3 separate regions of the Homo sapiens genome follow, and all the other regions are linked to region 3. The links are contacts of gene promoters, found by promoter capture Hi-C in human tissues and cell types (Jung and others, 2019). All regions are on one chromosome and are shown on one strand. The core of a region is centred on a gene start or on the middle of the fragment in contact, and the rest is flanking DNA. Distances in the headings are between cores, read along the strand shown.

Region 1 (3,707 bases), core at 1,099-3,598, 150 kb after region 3:
TGGTGCTATTGCCTCAATGCAGGAAAATCTATGTAAGAGTTCACTGTGAGGCCAAAACTGCTTCCTAAACATGGATACCTGCCAGGTATCTGAGCTGGGAGTACTGCCCAGGTCTGGATGGGCGGGGAGTGTTTGCAACAAGGACTGTGCCTTGCCAGCCTCAGTGACACAGTGTCCAAGTGCCCCAACTTAGCAGCCACCTGCTGACCACCTGATTTCTGTGGCCTAATAGGGATGTGATGAAGTCTACCTGTTTACTCAACCCCAAACCACACATTATCCAGGTGGTTTGAAACTTTTTTGATATACTGGGTTCATCCTCTGGAGTCCTAACAATGTTTTAGCTAATTTACAAAAAACAAAACAAAACAAAACAAAACAAAACAAAACAAAAAAACTACTTTTTTTGCAGCACAACAGCCTGGTTTACATTGCAAAATGATTTCTCATTAAAGGTCTATCATCTATTTCCATATGTCCATTATTATTTGCAATATCCTTTAAAGCAGTCAACCCCAGGCTAATCCATTGCACAACTCTTTTGAAAGTCTTCCTTCTACCTTGAAAGAAGAAAGTTGGCAGGTTGGACATTGTTCTCGTGGAGGTTGTACCATGGGTCACATATCACGGTGTGACTTCAAAGGCCACTGGAGCCACCGTCTCATACTGAAGAACACACATGGGTCAGGAGCCAGGTCCAGGTCCGGAATGGTGGATCTGGAGAGGGGAGGGTCCCTGCCTGTGGTCCTGTGGGGAGCCCTCAGGCTCCTCTCTGGCCACCATCCTCTGACCTCCCTCCTCAGCAGGACAGGGTTCTGGCTTCTCTGAGGGACAGGTTCTGTGGCAGGCCAGGCGTCACTAACACAGGCCTCCATAACAACTGTTTCAGTACTGACTGAGTGGTGAAGTTAAATATTAAAAGCTGAAAAAAGCCAGTACCTTTATACAGAGGCTGGATGTAACAAAAGCCCACCAAGAGTTTTGCTTAGGCCTTTCCTGGGCCTTAAAGCATGACAAAACAATGAAGGAATTCTTAACAGGACCTATTTAGAATTAAACAAGTTTTATTGTGAGTCTGAAGAAACTCCCCAGGCCTCCACAAACAAGTTTATTGGGCGTCTGAAGGAACTCCCCAAACCTCCGTGATTTAGCAGGAGACAAGATAAGGGTAATCATCCCCCGCACCTGGACCCATTTAGATTAAATAAATAGACTGAGGCTCCAGAATAAGGTCCTCAGGACCCAGACCTCAGTTACAGATTAAAGAAGTTAATCACTTATGTCTTTAGATGAATGCACACTTACTTGTAGACATATACCTTAGAAGGTATATATGCTCTGGAAAACTTTGTAATATTGAGTTGGTCTGGTGGTAATTTCTAGGCCTTCTCCCTGTTACCGGTTGCAGAAATAAAACCTCTCTTCCTCCCCATTTGATCTGCATCTCGTTATTGGGCCTAGAGAAATAGCAGCCGGACCCTCAGTTTGGTCCGGGAAGTTCTTCCATCCTCCCTCGCCTGCTCTCTGTGGCCACTGCACTCACTGTTGCTGTTGCTGTTCCGGTCTCTGTGAGGTTCACCTAGTGGACTGGCTGGACATTTCTAGGGGGCACCTCAGATACCTCACCAACTTGCTGGATCTGATCCTTGGATTTCGATTCATAAATTGTGCCAAAATACGAAGTGGCTAATTTACACAGTACTTAGCCAGATGACCGAAGGACTCAGTACCCGAGGGCCCCTAACAGAAAACACAGACCACATTTCCTTTACTCTGGCCCTTTTCCTGGGGGTCCTTCCTATACCACTGACACTGTTCCTGTGTAGGCGGGGCTAGAGGGGAGACTAAGCCCTGGGAGTAGCTTTCGGATCAGAGGAAGTCCTGCTCTTACAGTGACAGGGGCTGAATTAAATTCCCAGGTTGGGGCCACCACTTTTTAGTCTGACCCCTGCAGCCGGAGTCTCCCAGAGCCCTTGGGAACTCGGCAGCGGAGAGAAGGCTGAGGGACACCGCGGGCAGGGAGGAGAAGGGAGAAGAGCTTTGCTCCGTTAGGATCTGGCTGGTGTCTCAAGCGCACAGCCAAGTCGCTGTGGACCTAGCAAGGGCTGGATGGACTCGTGGAGCCTCAGGGCTGGGTAGGGAAGCTGGCGAGGCCGAGCCCCGCCTTGGGCTTCTGGGCGCCCTGACTTCGCTCCCGGAACCCTCGGGCCTGGGAGGCGGGAGGAAGTCTTACTGAGTGCAGCCCCAGGCGCCCTCTCCCGGGCCTCCAGAATGGCGCCTTTCGGGTTGTGGCGGGCCGAGGGGCGGGGTCGCAGCAAGGCCCCGCCTGTCCCCTCTCCGGAGCTCTTATACTCTGAGCCCTGCTCGGTTTAGGCCTGTCTGCGGAATCCGCACCAACCAGCACCATGCCCATGATACTGGGGTACTGGGACATCCGCGGGGTGAGCGAGGGTCCGCTGGACGGTGGGACGAGGGCGCAGGGGAGGGAAGTGCGAAGCAGCTGCGGGACGGACTCTAGGGACCGTTCCTCTTCAGGGCTGCCCGCCTCAGAAGGGCCTGTGCATGCCGCTGTGTGTGTGTTGGGGGTGTGGGCGGGTAGAGGAGGCAACGGGTACGTGCAGTGTAAACTGGGGGCTTCCCTGGTGCAGACAAAGTCAGGGACCCTCCATCTCTGACGCGACCTGCGGGCCATCTCTCCCAGCTGGCCCACGCCATCCGCCTGCTCCTGGAATACACAGACTCAAGCTATGAGGAAAAGAAGTACACGATGGGGGACGGTAATGGCACCCTCGTGTTCGGGCTCTGCCCACTCACGCTAAGTTGGCACCAAGCAACCCATGGTGGCCACCTGTGGCTGCCTCTGCAGGCCTCCCCTGCTGGAGCTGCAGGCTGTCTCTTCCCTGAGCCCCGGTGAGGGAGCCCTCTGGCCTTGCAAGGCAGAATGCTGGGGTGGGATGCTGGGCCCCCTGTCTAATTGGGACGGGTGTCCCTCAGGGCTTGCCTAAACCCTGGAAGCCTTAGCTGTGTGGGGTCCAGAGCCCTCAGCGGGATTCTTTGTCCCTGAACCCTGGGATGTGGGACTGAGTGGTCAGATTCTAGATCCACCTGTCTCAGGGATCTTGCCACTGGCTCCGTGGGAGGGTCCCCGGGAAGGAGGGCTGGGCTCTGGGGAGGTTTGTTTTCACTTCTTCTTCCCCACCACAGCTCCTGATTATGACAGAAGCCAGTGGCTGAATGAAAAATTCAAGCTGGGCCTGGACTTTCCCAATGTAGGTGCAGGGGAAGGGGCGGTTTTGGGGGAAAGTGCAACGTGTCTCTGACTGCATCTCCTCTCCCCAGCTTAGAGGTGTTAAGATCAGGAGTCTTCTGCCCAATTCCTCTCACTCCTGGCTGTCTAAACAGTCCTTCCATGATGTTCTGTGTCCACCTGCATTCGTTCATGTGACAGTATTCTTATTTCAGTCCTGCCATGAGCAGGCACAGTGAGTGCCCGGTCTCCTCTCTGCTCTTGCTTATGGGAAGGGGATGCTGGGGAGCCTGGTGGCCCAACTGAGCTTCGCCGGTTTCCCATCCATCCAGCTGCCCTACTTGATTGATGGGGCTCACAAGATCACCCAGAGCAACGCCATCTTGTGCTACATTGCCCGCAAGCACAACCTGTGTGAGTGTGGGTGGCTGCAATGTGTGGGGGGAAGGTGGCCTCCTCC
Region 2 (3,846 bases), core at 1,120-3,619, 160 kb after region 3:
TTAATGTACTTTATGTTCTTAACTCCCACAATTTAGCCTAAATACTTGCCCTGGCATGCTTATACTGATCCAAACAAGCATGAGGTCATAGCCTGTTCCTCTTCCTTATTTGAAGGTGTTTTTACCTTTCTCAGCGTTCCACAAGTGAGTTCCCCCTTCCTTTGTTCTCCTCTGCCTCTGCCTCTTTTAAAAAGTTCTAAGTTGCTAGCCAATCAGGACAAATACAGAATGTGAGGTCCCGTTCCAGCCAGTGGAAACTGGACACAGCAGTAGGGTGGACACATCAAGTTATAAATGACCCTTTCTCCTTTGTTCAGTGTACTCTCGTGGTAAAACTGCTGGCGAGTGTACCCTTTCTGCAGAAAGTAAAAATGGCCTTTGTTGCAGGAAGTCAGGGACCCCGAATGGAGGGACCGGCTGGAGCTGCAGCAGAGGAACATAAATTGCAAATATTTCATTTTAATATGGACATTTATCGGTTCCCAAATTAATACTTTTATAATTTCTTATGCCTGCCTTACTTTAATCTCTTAATCCTGTTATCTTCTTAAGCTGAGGATATAGGTCACCTCAGGACCACTGTGATAATTGTGTTAACTGTACAAATTGATTGTAAAACATGTGTGTTTGAACAATATGAAATCAGTGCACCTTGAAAAAGAACAGAATAACAGCGATATTTAGGGAACAAGAGAAGACAACCATAAGGTCTGACTGTCCGCAGGGTCAGGCAAAATAGAGCCATATTTTTCTTCTTGCAGAGAGCCTATAAATGGACATGCAAGTAGGGAAGATATTGCTAAATTCTTTTCCTAGCAAGGAATATTAATATTAATACTCTGGGAAAGGAAAGCATTCCTGGGGGGAGGTCTATAAATGGTCGCTTTGGGAATGAATGTCTGTCCTATGCAGTTGAGATAAGGACTGAAATACACCCTGGTCTCCTGCAGTACCCTCAGGCTTACTAGGGTGGGGAAAAACCTGGCCCTGGCAAATTTGTGGTCAGACTGGTTCTCTGCTCTTGAACCCTGTGTTCTGTTGTTTAAGATGTTTATCAAGACAATACATGCACCGCTGAACATAGACCCTTATCAGGAGTTCTATTTTGCCCTTGTCCTGTTTCCTCAGAAGCATGTGATCTTTGTTCTGCTTTTTGCCCTTTAAAGCATGTGATCTTCGTACCTACCCCCTGTTCGTACACCCCCTCCCCTTTTGCAATCCTTAATAAAAACTTGCTGGTTTTGAGGCTCGGGCGGGCATTACGGTCCCACTGATATGTGATGTCACCTCCAGCAGCCCAGCTGTAAAATTCCTCTCTTTGTACTCTTTCTCTTTATTTCTCAGCCAGCCGACACTTATGGAAAGTAGAAAGAACCTACATTGAAATACTGGGGGCAGGTTCCCCCAATATCTGGTGCACCAACATGGTTTTCTTTTTCCTAAGTGCATGTGGGAACCTGATTCCCTTTGGTAGGTGTGGAGAAACGATCATCAGTCCAGTCCTCAGAAACGCTTGTTCGGCTCCCTGATGATTGGTGAATTTTCTATGTATTGTCTCGGGTAACTATGGGTCACATGGAGTCTAAATATTATGCTTATCTCTGCTATATTAAACTCCTGTTAAAACAGGGTGGAGTTTGGGTGCCCATGGAAAATATGGTCACCCTATTCAGGGTGTTGGAAGAACACTGTCCTTGGTTTCCTGAAAAGGGAAAATTAGATGTGGAACTATGGGATCGCGTTGGTGCAAAATTCCAGGAACTGATCCCATCAGGAAATTATGTTCCCTTCACTGTTTGGGGTGATTGGGCCTTGGTATGTGCCATCCTAACGACATACCAATCCCGTGACCCCCTGCAGTTACCACAGTTTTCTGAATCTGGCGACCTTCTACCTCTTCCACAGCTTTCCTCTCCCACTCGGGCTTCATTATCTGCTCAGCCTCTCCCTTCGCCTACTCCTCCCCCACCTAACGATATTGAGGATTCAATATCTAACTCCGGTGACTTTGGCTTAATGTCACCCCCGATGGTCTTATTTCTTTTCATGAAGACCTGATACTTGTAGCTCCCATGGCCCTGACTCGGACAGCTCTGCACCATATCTATGCTAACTCTTCCCTTTTCAAATCTTTGCAGGCTTTGCCTCCAGAGCCATCTAATGGCTCCAGACCAAACTACAATTTACCTGTAATTCTGCAGGCCCTCCCCCACCGCAGCCCCTCACCCTCCTGTCATTTCGGTCCCTCAACCAGTCACTTTGCCATTCACTCAACCTGCTTCTCTGTACCCTTCTTCACACATGGACGCCCCTGCCACTCTGGTTGCACAGGATTTCCCAATAATCACCAGTATGCTTCTGTCTCTTCTGCTCCCCCAATGCCCCTTTCTCACACTCTCATACTGGTCTGACCTCCTGAACCTCAGTTTCCCTTATCTACACATACTTTTACTGTCACTTCTATGCCAACTCCATCTCATGTGCCTGCTCTTGAAACTTCCATGCAATGCTTATTACGCCAGAACAAAGAAACAAGTGGATTAGAGGTGTGGGCTTATCCGGTCACGCTGGAACCTCCCAATGCTCAAGGGGTACAAATGCGTTGATATGCACTGCTCAATCTTACCTTTTCAAAAGAATTCAAGGATGCTTGTGCTCAGTATGGTCCTGCTTCTCCATATGTTAAAATGGCATTACAGACTCTTTGTACTGAGGTCATTTTGCTTCCTTCAGAATGGGACCTTTTGGCGAAAGCTGTTCTAACTCCATCTCAGCATTTACAATTCTGTACCTGGTGGTCAGAGGAGGCCCGTCTGCAGGCTCAGCTAAATTGGGTTGATGGCATTCTAATTACTCAGGCTCAGCTCACAGGCTCTGATAATCACTCTGACACTACCGCCCAATTAGACTTTGACGCTCTCACCACGGAACAAGTAACAAAGTTGTGTATGAGAGTTTGGGATAAACTAGGTGCCCCAGGCCAAGCTCCTGTTTCTTTTACTACTGTTAAACAGGGTCGCAGTGAATTACATCCTGATTTTTTGGCTAAATTACAAGATGCTGTTCAAAATCTGTCTCTGATGATTACGCTCAAGGTATTCTCCTTCATATGTTAGCTTTTGAGAATGCGAACCATGAGTGTAAAGTGGTCATGCGTTCTGTCTAATGACAAAATTTACCTGATCACGAGGTGTGCCTGCATATATTAAAGCTTGTGAAAGCATTGGATCAGAGACCCACAAAGCTATTCTGTGGGCACGGGCCATGAAGGATGGCAATCAAACTGGCTTGACTGAATTCTTTTCTTGGAGCCTGCTATAATTGTGGTCAACTTCATCATACCCAAAAAAATTGCACTGTTAAAAGCGGCCAAGCCAGCTCAACAAACATGGCCAAATGCTCCTGCTACTGTTTGCCCTCATTGTCGTAAAGGTAAACACTGGGCAAGTACTTGCCACTCTAAGTCTGATATAGATGGCAATCCCTTGCCACAGAACCAGGGAAATGGGAAGCAGGGCCAGTCCCAGGCCCCAGTATCAAATGGGACACCTCAGACTCAGACCAATATTGTGTTTCTGCTTCAAGCGGTCCCAATACAGCCCCCAGCACAAGCAAATTTACCTACAGCCAACCCAGATGGGTCCCAGTCGCTTCTTCTGTCTCAGTACAATGCTTGTCTACCTCCACAGTAGGGGGCAGGGCGGTCAATCTCTGTAGTACCACTCCTCTAAATTTACTACCGAATTCTTTGCCTTTAATTGTCCCCACGGGGGCCACTGGCCCTTTACCTCAAGGTTTGGTGGGCCTGGTGTTAGGTAGGGCATCCACCTCTGCTAAAGGTATCAT
Region 3 (3,669 bases), core at 40-2,539:
CTCTTTGTTTTTGACCTGGGGCTTGGGGCAGCCAACTTGTCCCAGTGAGGTCCTTGGGTAACTCATTGTTCTTATGGCTCTTTGGGTTGGGTCTGGTAAACAATTCCAGAATTCCCTTTTTCCTTCTTAGAGGCAGAAGGAGTCCCTAGATAGGCAAGTCTCAGGGAAGCAGGCTCTGGAGTAGGGGATCATGCCTGAATTCCCTGTTTAGACTCATGGCTCTGCCATGTGGAGCTATGTGGCTTTGAGCAATCTCTTTATCTCTCTGGGTCTCAGAAACATGGATACCTTGGCCTGTAGGATGTCCTACAGCTTTGCAATGTTAGGATTCTATCCTTGGGTATCAGTCATGTACCCGGGTAAATGATCATTTTCTTCATAGCTAGAGGGAGGCCATGCCCCTTCATTGCGTCTCTGAAGGCCCATCATGCCACAGATGGGCGATGCTCAGTGGCTGATGCTACCTAGCTCTGTCCAGTCCCACAAATCCAGATCAGTGTGAGCATTCCTGAGTCCCTGGCCCCCACTCTGTCTCCTTCAGGAAGCAGTGTTGTGGTGGTTCCCATGGTGGCTCGGGGGGATGTTAGATCCTCCCGCCCCCTCCCTGCCAATCTCCATCAGCCCTCACAGCCCCAGTTCCAATAAACATACAATCTAAGCAAATAATAATAATGTGCTTTTGGGAGGCAAGGGCAGGGTTAAGACAAAGCCTTCAGCTGCCCTTCAAACCTGAGTGCTGCTCCTAAACCTGTCCCCCATACGCATTAGGCAGCTTCCAAAGGGGCCAAACCTTGGACCATCCCCTGGAGCCTCAGCCGCCTCCCTGGCCTAAGCCTTGGGGCCCTGGGTCTGCGCTGACCTGCCTGCATCAGCACCTTGGTTCTGATGTCACACAGAACCATGCATCTCTCCTATCTTCTCTTTGAACTGCTAAGAAATCAAGGCCAAAATGCAACTTGCCCAAGGTCACACGGCTAGTAAGTGCCATAGCCAGGCCTTAAACCTGGATTTTCTGACTCCATGTACTTTTTTTTTTACTTCATCAGGCTGGTCAAGAGGGTCTCCCCTACCTATCATTTCCTGGCCCCACGAAATTTTTGAGACGCAATCCAGCAGCCTGAGAGAAGTGAGAGGAGTTGAGCTCACTGCCAGGCACCTTGCCTGGGGCATTGGTGCCCACCTTTTTGCTCCAGAAGTGACTCTGAGGGGCTGGGTGGGAAGCAGGAGGCCATTAGGACCCAGAGGCTCTCGGAGCACTCTGCTTTGCCGGCTGCCTCTCACCGCTCACTGCAGTGCTTCAGGCTTCAGCAGCCTTGGAGAAGCATCAGCTGAGAGGAGCTATCACATGGGAGCCGGGACTGCTCAGCAAAGGTAGGAGTTGCCGACTAGGCCAGGAATGGGGGCCAGACCCAGAGCCTGGTGGTGAGTGCCAAGGTATCCCCACAGAAGGGTGGCTTTCCAAGGACCAGCCCTGCCTACATTCCGGTGAGCAGTTTGATCAGGAGATGGGCTCTCAGGTATCCCAAAGGCGGTATTGGGGTGTGGGCATCTCTGAAGCCCAGAGCTGGGGGGTTGATCATCTCCTGCCGGCAGGAGTACCCACATCCTGCAGACAAACAGCATTCTCCATCTGTCTTGCTCCATGTCATGGACATGGGTCTCCCACATTCTAGGAATGGGCCCTTCAGCATACAGGCTGATGGGCAACTGTGTCCTGGGCGTGGGCAACTCTGCTGAGGAGAGGTGTTGTAGCTCCCTGGAAATCTTCCCTAGCTTAGGAGGGGCACGCTCTTGTCTGAAGGAAGGCCAGGCTCAGGTCTTTGGGATGGAAGCTCTGGATCTGGAAAACAGGTGCATGTGAATCCCAATACCTCTGTGGCCTTGGGCTGGGCACTTATGCACATCTTGCATCCTGTAACTTGACCATGCCCCTGCTAGAGGCCCAGACCTCAGGCCCTAGTGGCAAAGCCTTCTAGGTACTGAAGGTCCTGGAGGTAAGAGGGGTGCTGTTGGAAGTAAGTAGTGGGGGAAGGAAAGCATCTGTTGGGGGAGTAGGCATAATGATATGACCTGGGAGAGGAGTGAGGCTCCCTGGGTTTCACCTATGAAACTGTTACACCACAGCCCTCCCCTCCATAACCCCAGTCCATTAGTGAGGGAGTGCCCATTAGCCAGATACACTGATCTGTCTGTTAAGAGGTAAATTGGAATCCTGGCATTTAGGAGTCACTGTGGAGACACTGGCAAGCTTGAGGGAGCTATGAAAAAGAGCAATGTCCAATGCCTTCTTGCTCAGGGCTCCATCATGGCTTCGTGGCATCCCTCCAGCTCCACGTGGAAACCAGGTCTGCTTCCCTCCGTCTGGGACTCTTGATGTCCATCCAGACATGGTGGGCCTCTCCTCCTTCAGCCACCAGGGAGGGACTCTGAACCACATCCTCTGGGCCTCACTCACAGACAGAAGGGATAGGTAAATCAGAGCATGGAGAGTAAGAAGGAAGGATGCTTCTCCTAGCATTTCTTTCAGGCATTTTTCCTGGTAGACTCTAATGAGAAGCTGATGTCTCACTTTTGTGCCCGCTCTTCAACTTCTCTGCAGACTCTAAGTCTCTGTGGGCATCTTAACTGTGAAATGAGCTTTCTGTGTCCCTAGAGAGAGGCACGTCTCTAGGCAGTTGCCCAAAGTTAGGGCTTCCTCAAGTCCAGGAACCCCGGCTACCCTTTCCACAAGAGAGTCCCTTGGCTGGCACACAGCTGGCTGACTGAGTGTTCTTGGAGTTTGTCCTAGGGGGCAGGGATTCAACTACCAATTTGAGTTTGATTCAATTCACAAAATTGTATTCAGCACCTATTGCATGCATAGCATGTTAGAAGTTGGATTGGTGTAAGGTTTATGGAAACACCAAAAACCAAAGGTGACTGTAAGGCTATAACTGTGGAGGAGAGTGGGGCCCATCTTGCCATGTGATCCTCTTTATTGCAGCCATAGAAATGATGGGTTTTTAAACTGAGCAACCTCAGTGTCTCCTCCCTACTTCTTGTTCTGTGACTGTAGTAAGTCTAGAACCAATGCGGCTCTTGGTCAGGGATCCTCCAAGGGTCAGCTCCAGAGATCAGAGATTTGGGGATCTGGGGAGCAGGAGGTTGGCAGCAGCTCCTTTCCCACAAGAGGGGCACAGTGGCCTTGAAGAGTTCATGAGTGGGTGGAGAAGGGCAGCTTGAAGCAACTTCCGGCTTTGGGAGCAGTGGAGGCTGGATGAGCTGGCCTCCCAGTTTCCTTCCAGACGGGACATTTTGTTTTCACTGCTCCTACTCAACATTCCCAAAGTGGCAGCTCTTTGTGCTGGGAGTAGTGATGTCAAAAGAGCCTAAAGCACAGCTCCCCTTTTCAGATGATAACCCTAGGGCAGCAAGAGACAGTTTTAGAGACAGCTGAAATTCAACAACTATTTACTGGATGCCTATTATAGTCCAGCCGGCACGGAGGGCACCTTCACATATGGCATGGCACAGTGGGCAAGAGTACTGGACCTGGGGCCAGACTGCCCAGGTAGGTGCCCAGCCCTTGCCGCTTACTAGCTGTGCGACCTTGGGTAAGTTACTTAACCTTTCTAGACCTCAGCTTCATCTCTTGCAAAATGGAGATAAAAATATTATCTACTTCATAGG

What was found. The method cuts DNA at HindIII sites, captures the fragments that hold promoters and counts their contacts. A contact is called where the count stands out against the background at its distance.
Region 1: a contact is called between the fragment with the promoter of GSTM1 here and the fragment with the promoter of GPR61 in region 3, in 1 of the 25 tissues and cell types used here (mesenchymal stem cells).
Region 2: a fragment that was not itself captured here is called in contact with the fragment with the promoter of GPR61 in region 3 in 1 of the 25 tissues and cell types used here (spleen).

Annotation. Positions count from the first base shown.
Region 1 is chr1:109,685,469-109,689,175 of GRCh38, forward strand. It overlaps GSTM1 (glutathione S-transferase mu 1), which reads left to right and starts at 2,349. Exons shown (of 8, transcript NM_000561.4): 1 at 2,349-2,441; 2 at 2,702-2,777; 3 at 3,205-3,269; 4 at 3,580-3,661. The coding sequence starts at 2,406. RefSeq lists an enhancer at 2,399-2,448. The HindIII fragment of the contact is 14,943 bases long and covers 1-3,707 here.
Region 2 is chr1:109,702,236-109,706,081 of GRCh38, forward strand. No RefSeq gene overlaps it. Among named protein-coding and RNA genes, the nearest start is that of GSTM5, 8.1 kb to the right of the region's middle. The HindIII fragment of the contact is 8,634 bases long and covers 1-3,846 here.
Region 3 is chr1:109,538,583-109,542,251 of GRCh38, forward strand. GPR61 (G protein-coupled receptor 61) reads left to right here and starts at 1,290. Exons shown (of 2, transcript NM_001393907.1): 1 at 1,290-1,371. RefSeq lists enhancers at 803-1,304, 1,305-1,804. The HindIII fragment of the contact is 6,013 bases long and covers 1-3,669 here.